Regions from separate parts of the Homo sapiens genome. Here region 1 is linked to region 2. Evidence: promoter capture Hi-C in 16 types of primary human blood cells and fetal thymus (Javierre and others, 2016). All regions are on one chromosome and are shown on one strand. Each heading gives the region's core, a stretch centred on a gene start or on the middle of the fragment in contact. The rest is flanking DNA. Distances are from core to core; before and after follow the strand shown. Region 1 holds the start of TFF1 (trefoil factor 1). Region 2 overlaps UMODL1 (uromodulin like 1).

Evidence for each region. The method cuts DNA at HindIII sites, captures the fragments that hold promoters and counts their contacts. A CHiCAGO score of 5 or more calls a contact.
Region 1: the fragment with the promoter of TFF1 here is called in contact with a fragment that was not itself captured in region 2 in 1 of 17 cell types (M2 macrophages); the score reaches 6.8 in M2 macrophages.

What each region holds. Positions count from the first base shown.
Region 1 is chr21:42,364,203-42,368,804 of GRCh38, reverse strand. TFF1 (trefoil factor 1) reads left to right here and starts at 2,270. Exons shown (of 3, transcript NM_003225.3): 1 at 2,270-2,394. The coding sequence starts at 2,310. It overlaps LOC105372815 (a long non-coding RNA gene), which reads right to left. Exons shown (of 3, transcript XR_937755.3): 3 at 3,693-4,602. RefSeq lists an enhancer at 23-1,222 and a silencer at 1,849-1,948. The HindIII fragment of the contact is 25,271 bases long and covers 1-4,602 here.
Region 2 is chr21:42,137,318-42,141,974 of GRCh38, reverse strand. It overlaps UMODL1 (uromodulin like 1), which reads right to left. Exons shown (of 23, transcript NM_001004416.3): 22 at 4,334-4,536. The coding sequence ends at 4,355. Among named protein-coding and RNA genes, the nearest start is that of UMODL1-AS1, 31 kb to the right of the region's middle. The HindIII fragment of the contact is 352 bases long and covers 1,101-1,452 here.

The DNA.
Region 1 (4,602 bases), core at 1,021-3,520, 230 kb before region 2:
GGAGGTTGCAGTAAGCTGAGATCATGCCACCGCACTCCAGCCTGGGCGACAGAGCAAGACTCTGTCTCAAAAAAAAAAAGTATTTTAAAATCTTATTTACAACATCTTAAAGATCAAAACTTGGGTGTGCCGCAAGTCAAGTACTATGTAGAATCTGCAGAATGAAATGAGGTGTAGGTATTGCATCAGGTATTATAACTAACCTAGAGATGGTTAAAGTGTAGGAGAGGATGCACGTGGTTTCTGCGCACTATGTCATTTTATACCAGGGACTTGAGCATTTGTGGATTTTGGCATCCCTGGGTGGGGGGTCCTGAAACCAGTCCCCCAGGGGTACTAAGGGACGACTGCATTGTATTTTAAGTTCATTTTCCCTTTCCCTGGTTAATGAATATTTATTTTGCTTTTCTTTCCCTCCTTTCCTTCCTTCCTTCTTTCCCTGTTTCCAGCTGTTACAAACAATGCTAAAAAGAATATCTTTGCCTGTGTTTTCTTCTGCCCAAGTATGAACATGTTTCTGGGATTAAGAGACCAGGCCTGGAAACAGAAGAATTTGCTGAGCTGTAAAATCTGTATGGCTTAAACCTCACCGAACACTGCCCACCTTTTCTCCAAATGATTGTGCAATTTACATCCCATTTCCAAGAGCCCCCATTTTGATCCGAGAAATTAGAGCAGCGAAAACCACCGTCACTATGAGCACCACCCTGGGCCTGGTGCCCCCGTCCTGTTTTCAATAAACTTAAGCTGACCACAGAGGACACCAGGCCTCGGCCCCTCCCTGGGTCCTGCGGTCAGGCCCCTCCTGGAGACCCTGGCCCAGGAGTGGAGACCCCGGTGCAGGAGTGGCAGCCCTGGAGGAGGGGCTGGGTCCTGGGATGGAGCGAAGAGGAACATGGCCGCCCCCATTCTGGCCCAGGCTCCCCTCCCAGAGGGGCTGCAGAAATGTACTGACTAGGTCACCCAAGAAAAGATAGTACCTTTGTTAGGCTAGCATGCATTTTCCTCAGGGCCTAATTTCTCACTGAAGAAGAAAAGATTTCTCCTGTTGTCCATTTCTTCATGCAGCTCTTCAACAGCTGTTTCTCGAATGCCAATCAAAGCCACTGTTCTAGGGTCTGGGGCCACCTCAAGGCACTAGGAGATGAGGACTTCTGCTCCCATGCGCCCTCCCGTCTGCTGCAGGGAGGAGTGCAATGAATAAATAACCAACATAATGTGTCAGTCACTTGTTTTATCCACCAGGAGGTAATAAGAGCTATGAAAGAGAAAGCTCCGAGCAGGGGAGGGGAGTGAGGCATGGTACAGGAGAGCAGGAGGCTGTCCTCTAAAATACAGGAGTCCAGGGGACCAACTGGGAAGGTGTGGGAGGGGGAGGGAGGGAGCCCCATAGACACAGGGGAGTGAACCACGTTCACTTTGTCAGTTTTTGATGGCAGCTCGTATATACTATTTTTTTCTCCCTCCTGCCCCCAGCCCCTCCCAGAAGGAGACTTAATCTGTCGCTCAGGCTGGAGTGCAGTAGGGTGATCTCGACTCACTGCAACCTCCGCCTCCCAGGTTCAAGTGATTCTCCTGACTTAACCTCCAGAGTAGCTAGGATTACAGGCACCCGCCACCATGCCTGGCTAATTTTTGTATTTTTTTTTTTTGTAGAGACGGGGTTTCGCCATGTTGGCCAGGCTAGTCTCAAACTCCTGACTTTAAGTGATCCGCCTGCTTTGGCCTCCCAAAGTGTTGGGATTACAGGCGTGAGCCACTGCGCCAGGCCTACAATTTCATTATTAAAACAATTCCACTGTAAAAGAATTAGCTTAGGCCTAGACGGAATGGGCTTCATGAGCTCCTTCCCTTCCCCCTGCAAGGTCACGGTGGCCACCCCGTGAGCCACTGTTGTCACGGCCAAGCCTTTTTCCGGCCATCTCTCACTATGAATCACTTCTGCAGTGAGTACAGTATTTACCCTGGCGGGAGGGCCTCTCAGATATGAGTAGGACCTGGATTAAGGTCAGGTTGGAGGAGACTCCCATGGGAAAGAGGGACTTTCTGAATCTCAGATCCCTCAGCCAAGATGACCTCACCACATGTCGTCTCTGTCTATCAGCAAATCCTTCCATGTAGCTTGACCATGTCTAGGAAACACCTTTGATAAAAATCAGTGGAGATTATTGTCTCAGAGGATCCCCGGGCCTCCTTAGGCAAATGTTATCTAACGCTCTTTAAGCAAACAGAGCCTGCCCTATAAAATCCGGGGCTCGGGCGGCCTCTCATCCCTGACTCGGGGTCGCCTTTGGAGCAGAGAGGAGGCAATGGCCACCATGGAGAACAAGGTGATCTGCGCCCTGGTCCTGGTGTCCATGCTGGCCCTCGGCACCCTGGCCGAGGCCCAGACAGGTAAGGCGTGCTTCTTCCTGCTCTGTGGGGCCACAGCCAGCTCTGGCAGCCTCCGCCAGGAGCCACTGTTTTACATACATATTTTTGAGCACCTGTTTTGTGCCAGGTGCTGTTCTAGGCCCTTAAAAGTATATCCAATTTACAGGATCGGCAAAAGCAGGTGGAGAGTAACTCAGGGTGGCAGGGCCCCCGGAGACCTTCGAGAAGTGCGACGAGGAGGGGGCTGCCTTCAGTCGGGGCTGTTTTCCTGTGTTAGGAAGACTATACAATCCTCCCAAGTGTCATGTTTCAAAGAGGAAGTGTTGGCGTGGGGTCTCAGAATAGTGCTTTTGACTGTTCATGCCAACATCTCCCCCAGGGGCAGACCCTCCCAAGGCCCATCCAGATAGGCCCAAATGCCGGTCCCAGTGATGGCCACCTGGGAGACCCTCTCCCACAGGCCCGAATGCCCGTCCCAGTGGTGGCCAACTGGGAGACCCTCTCCTACAGGTTCCTGGGCTCCCCTGGGATCCATGCTCTGGGAGTCAAAGCCACCTCTCTCATGAGTGCGTGGCTGGCAACCCATATTCCCTGGTGTTGTCAAGTGGATCGGTTGCCCTGGGTCCTTCTAGGGAGTGGAGGAGGAGGCCATTCTTGCTTCCTTGGGAAGTGTTTGCATCTCAACTCCTTTACCTGCAGAATGGATCAACGGTCTGCCCTAGGGCTGTCAGGAAATGCTGTGTGGCAGCATCTGCGACTTGCACTTTGCCAGCTGTGGGGAGCTGAATAACTTATTTGCCGTTATTAGGTACAGTTTCAAGGTGGGGGCAGGAGAAAGGGCTTTCTACGTTTCCAAAGCAAGGGTTTCCAGAGAGGCCTGAAGAGGGAGCGCCCAGTGGTGCTGTCCGTGCCCCCACTGCCCTCCAGCCACCTCTTGATCTCTGCTGTGGGGTACCGGGCCTGAGGGGTGGGCTTGGGCAGCGTAGAAGAGCAGCCAGCATTGGGCTGCAGTGGGAAGACCCCCAAGCCCATGGCAGGGAGCGGGGGAGCTTTGGAACCCGAGAGAGGAAGTGGCCTCGGTGTACAGAACGAACTGGGTGGGTCCCCGTGCTGGCCACCCCCAGGCCCATCTGCCTGCGCCCTTGCCCCCACCCCAGCCCCCAGCTCTGCCCCCTGTGCTGTGGGATCACAGAGGCCGTGGCAAACTCCCCTCCCCACCCCACACACCCTCTGGCTCAAGGCTCAGAGCGTCTTTGCGGGTCACTCAGGTCCATGATCCTGTTACAACTGAAATCTAGAAAATTGTGATTACAGTTTAGTGCATTCGTGTGTGGAAACCATTTCCATTTATTTCCATCATGCGACAAAGACAAAGCGGGTGGGCAAGACAGAGTCTGCCGGAGGCAGAGCACCGGGGCTGGAAATCTTCCTCCCTGAGGAGGAAACCCCCCCGACCCCCAGGATGATGATCCTCCCTCACCACGGGGCCTCTCTTGACCCCCACAGTGTCCCGGGGGTGGGCGATGATCACCTTCACGTCGCGATGGATCCAGACCCCAGGAGGGCAAGGTTCCCATGGAAGCTGCTGGGCAGCGGGAGCTGAACACGGATCCTTCCCAGCAAGCCAGGAACACTTTCTCCAAAGACATCTCGAGGCAGTCCCTGATAGCAAAGCAGACAAGAGAACAGCCCCTCTCGGCCTCCCCTGGGGCGCCCTCACCTGAGCCAGTGTGGCCAGACTGAGTTCCTCCCCTCCTATGCCCCAAGGCAGGGACAGGGACCGGAGGGTGCTCTGGGCTCCTCTTTCACCCCCTGCTGCAGGCTGTCAACCACCAGATCCTAATAGGTTGCTTTCTGAGACCTTTGATTCCGCGGAGCTCAGAGCCTGAAGCTCTGGTGTTAGAACCTCTTGCATAAGATCCTGCGGCAGCCCCCAGCCAGCCCCATCTGTCCACGTGTCTTCCTCCTCTAGATCCCTTTCCTCACTGCCCTGCTTCAAGCTGTTTCACAGCTTGTACCCTCTGTCGGCTCCTCCTAGACCACCCCACCCGGTCCTCTCACCTTACCTGCAATGGGTTTCCACCTCCTGAACACACCTGGGTCTCTGGAATGGCCTTTGCCCATGCGGCTCCATCTTCACCTGGTGAACCTCCTCCTGCAGGGAGCCCCCCTGCTTTGTTCAACCTGCTTGTCATTGGCCTCTCCGGGGAGTGCCCTACCCCCGTGGTT
Region 2 (4,657 bases), core at 27-2,526:
TACTGGAGAGGGACAGATCAAGCCCCTAATGAAAAGGCAGCCACTCCCAGAGTGCCCAGTGGAACGGGGACCATGGGGCTGTGCCTGCCCTCAGGTGAGCGATGCTCCTGACACGCCAACTGGTGGGGGTGGCTGGTGAAGATACCTGAGCCAGACGAGCACAGCTGGGGCCCCTGCACCTTTGCACCATCCGTGGAGAACCCACCAGGACTCTGGGAACATCTCTGAGTGGGGCTGCCCAAGGGTCGACCTGGTGGGGGTGGGTGGGTTGGCTGATGGTTTTCAAAGAGCAGATGTCTGCAGGAACTTTAGAACTGGTGAGACAGTTCTCACTTCGAAAGACAGGAGCCCCGGGAGAACAAAGAAAGACAAGAGGCCAGTTTTCCCTCGGATGTTTTAATTTCGAGGAAGGGGACATCCAGCATGACCCAGCACCAATACACCAGATTTCCTTAGAAAGCTAGCGGGATAGTGTTGGCCTCATCGCTGGGATTCGCATCTTAAATATTAAGTAAAAGGCACTGACATTTCCTCGTAACTCTATCTAGGGAGGTGACTGGCCTCTAGCACTGGCCCTGTCTATGCTGTAAGGGTCCTGAGACCCCAGAATACTGCGTATGTTAGTTACCAGGAGTCCTGGCAGGAGAGACGGGAAAGACAAAGCTAACACAAGCATCCCCCTCACATGGGCAGAATCACATCCACAGGCGGGTGGTGTTTTCTCTGAAGTTGCCCAGCAAGGGCAGCATGGAGGTTGCCTTTTGGAAACGTGTGCTGTAGTCTGGGCTTTGCTGGTGACCTGGGAGGATTGGCTTGAGTTCTCTGGGCCCCATTTCCTCATTTTAAGATTGGAGCCAGTGTCTACTATACTTTGCTGAGTTGTTTCAAAAATCTGTTATCTCAAGAAAATAAGGACCTGAGCACAGGGAAGACGGGCTTGGCTGGGGAAGCTGCCTGCCTGACGAAGAGGGGGCGGGCTGGTATTGACAATGTCTCCTGCCCAGGATGGGAGGCAATGGGGTTGGTGAGGAGGGGGTCTTCATGGCCCAAACCCCATGGGCCCCAAACCAGAGGCCAAAAGCTACCAAACTGAGGAAGCTTCCTTATTTTTCACTATTAGAGTGTAAAGTTGAACTGAAACTTCGCTGTTGTTCCCTGCCCCTTTGGGATCCCCGGAGGTGGCTGAGGACCCAGACCACAATTGAGCAGCAGCACCTGCCTCCCGGGGAGGCTCAGGGGTCCTGGGAAGGCTCCTTCCCTGTAACCACAACAGTTGCTGCCTCTCAACTGGGACACCTGGTGTCCCCACTGCAAGAATTAAGAATTGTGGATCCCCTTGCACAGCTGCTAAAATACAAATTCTCCGGGTCTCTGATGAAGGGGAAAGGCAAGGGGCATTGTTCTAAGGGTCCATCAGTCATGTGAACACTAGTGTAAGAAAGGCTCTAAGCTTGGTAGCTAAGAGAGCTGACCCCAGAGCCAAACGGAAATCCCATGCAGCCCCAGCTCGGCCACCTCCCAGCCATGTGACCTGGGAGGCCTATCCCTTCCTGCCCTGGACCTCCCAACCACGTGACCTGGGACACATCCCTTCCTGCCCTGGACCTCCTAGCCACGTGACCTGGGACACCTATCCCTTCTTGCCCTGGACCTCCTAGCCACGTGACCTGGGACGTCTATCCCTTTCTGCCCTGGATTCCCATCTATAACACAGGATGCTAATAACAGCACAACCTCACGGGGATGTTGGGAAACAACAGACATTGTCAACATCAGCCCACCCCCTCTTCGTCGGGCAGGCAGCTTCTCCAGCCCAGCCCATCTTTCCTGTGCTCAGGTCCTTATTTTCTTGAGATAACAGATTTTTGAAACAACTCAGCAAAGTGTAGTAGACACTGGCTCCAATCTTAAAATGAGGAAATGGGGCCCAGAGAACTCAAGCCAATCCTCCCAGGTCACCAGCAAAGCCCAGACTACAGCACACGTTTCCAAAAGGCAACCTCCATGCTGCCCTTGCTGGGCAACTTCAAAGAAAACGCCACCCGCTTGTGGAAGTGATTCTGCCCATGTGAGGGGGACGCTTGTGTTAGCTTTGTCTTTCCCGTCTCTCCTGCCAGGACTCCTGGTAACTAACATGCGCAGTATTCTGGGGTCTCAGGACCCTTACAGCATAGACGGGACCAGTGCTAGAGACCAGTCACCTCCCTAGATAGAGTTACGAGGAAATGTCAGTGCCTTTTACTTAATATTTAAGATGCGAATCCCAGCGATGAGGCCAACACTATCCCACTAGCTTTCTAAGGACATCTGGTGGGTCGGTGCTGGGTCATGCTGGATGTCCCCCTCCTTGAAATTAAAACATCGAGGGAAAATTGGCCTCTCGTCTTTCCTTGTTCTCCTGTTGGCTGAGAGGGTGGGCAGTTGATATGGTGTGGGTCTGTGTCCCCACCCAAATTTCATGTTCAATGTGATCCCCATATTAAAGGTGGGGCCTGGTGGGAGGTGGTTGGATCATGGGGCGGATCCTTCATAAATGATTTAGCACCATCCTCTTGGTGCTGTCTCACGATAGAGCTCTCATAAGATCTGGTTGATTAAACATCTGTAGCACCTGCCCCAACCCCTTCCTCCTGCTCCAGCCATGGAAGACGTGCCTGCTTCCCCTTGGTCTTCTGCCATGATTGTAAGTTTCCTGAGGCCTCCCCAGAAGCCGAAGCCGCATGCTTCCCTTACAGCATTTGGAGTCAGCAGTCTCACACGCTGCCAGATAAGCCTCATGATTGCTTCTCTTCTTCTTTTATTAGTATTTATTTATTTTTGAGGCAGGGTTCCCCTCTGGAGTGTAGTGGGGCAGTCTCGGCTCACTGCAACCTCCACCTCTCGAGCTCAAGGGATCCTTCCACCTCAGCCTCCCAAGTAGCTGGGACCACAGGTGTGTGCCACCACACCCGGCTTATTTTTGTATTTTTTGTAGAGATGGAGTCTTTCTATCTTGCCCAGGCTGGTCTGGAACTCCTAAGCTTAAGCGATCCTCCTGCCTTGGCCTCCAAAAGTGCTAGGATTACAGGCATGTTCTTTTTTTAGAAAAATCTCAAAATTTGGCCGGGCACGGTGGCTCACGCCTGTAATCCCAGCACTTTGAGAGGCCGAGACGGGTGGATCACCTGAGGTCAGGAGTTGGAGACCAGCCTGACCAACATGGAGAAACCCTGTATCTACTAAAAATACAAAACTAGCTGGGTGTGGTGGCGCATGCCTGTAATCCCAGCTACTCAGGAGGCTGAGACAGGAGAATCGCTTTAACCTGGGAGGTGGAGGTTGTGGTGAGCCAAGATCGCACCACTGCACTCCAACCTGGGCAACAAGAGCAAAACTCCATCTCAAAAAAAAAAAAAATCTGAAAATCTTTACAAAAGTCCCAGTCTTGGTGTTTCCCACTGAAGGTTTATACTAACCATACTGCCCTCCATAATGCTTGTCATTCATTTGTGGTGAACTATGTGCAGGCCCAGGAAAAACAAAAGTCCACAGGGCAGATCAGAGAAGCATCTTCAGCCTCAAAAGGTCATACATAAGTCGGGGCTGCGGGCATGAGCAGCAAGGTGTGGGGGGTCCACTGTGGCATCCACACCACACGTGACAATCCCTACGAGCACCAGGTTTCAGGGACACTCGGCCGAGGACCATCGTTAGGATCCACCAGCAATTGAGGGCGTCAGACCCCATAGCGGGGCCTCTTGGGCATCTTCCCATTTAAATCTCACACCCTCCACGTGGCCGGAAATGTTACCATGGTTTCTTTTACAAATGATGAAACCGAGGCACCAAGAGGCTCAGGACCTTGCCCGGGTGGTCAAGAGAGTGGGTGGCAGAGATGGGATTTGTGGTGGGCCCCTGGGTCCTGTGGTCACCCATATAGCACTGCCGCTGGTATCGTGGAGCCAGTCCAGTGGGTGTGTGAAGCGATCGAACCTTCACCAACCTACCTGTAGTTTCCCCTCTCTGCCTGCTCCTGGTTGCTTTTTCAGAAGGGAGGCTGCACGCTCCGTAAAGGGCCACAAAACACAGACACACACATATCTACCCTTGGCTGAATCCTGCTGGCCGTCCCCATCACCATGGATGGCAAGGCAGGACATGCACATCAGATGCCCCCACTCCGCACCCACCTTCTTATCAGCCTGCACCTCCTACCCCACTCCACACCCACCTTCCTGTCAGCCTACACCTCCCACCCCACTCCGCACCCACCCTCCTGTCAGCCTGCACCTCCCACCCCACTCCACACCCACCTTCCTGTCAGCCTGCACCTCCCACCCCACTCCGCACCCACCTTCCTGTCAGCCTGCGCCTCCTATTCGTAGAACACCTGGTAGCTGAAGTTGTTGGACTGGATTTTAAAGTTGTATCTCCCATTCATTCTCTGGTAGCGCACGATCAGAAGGGTGGCTGTTCCCGCCACCAGCACGAAGATGGCCACCACAATAAGGACCACATAACCGGCACCCAGGCCTGCTTCTGCATGAGGAGGCTCACCTCGGGGAGGAGACAGGCACAGGTGAGAGATCTGCACAAACGGGAGGAATGCGATAGAGCAAGCCCTCCACCCGGATCCGGGGCTGATGGATCTGAAGCACGGGGAATGCAAGGCCCACGT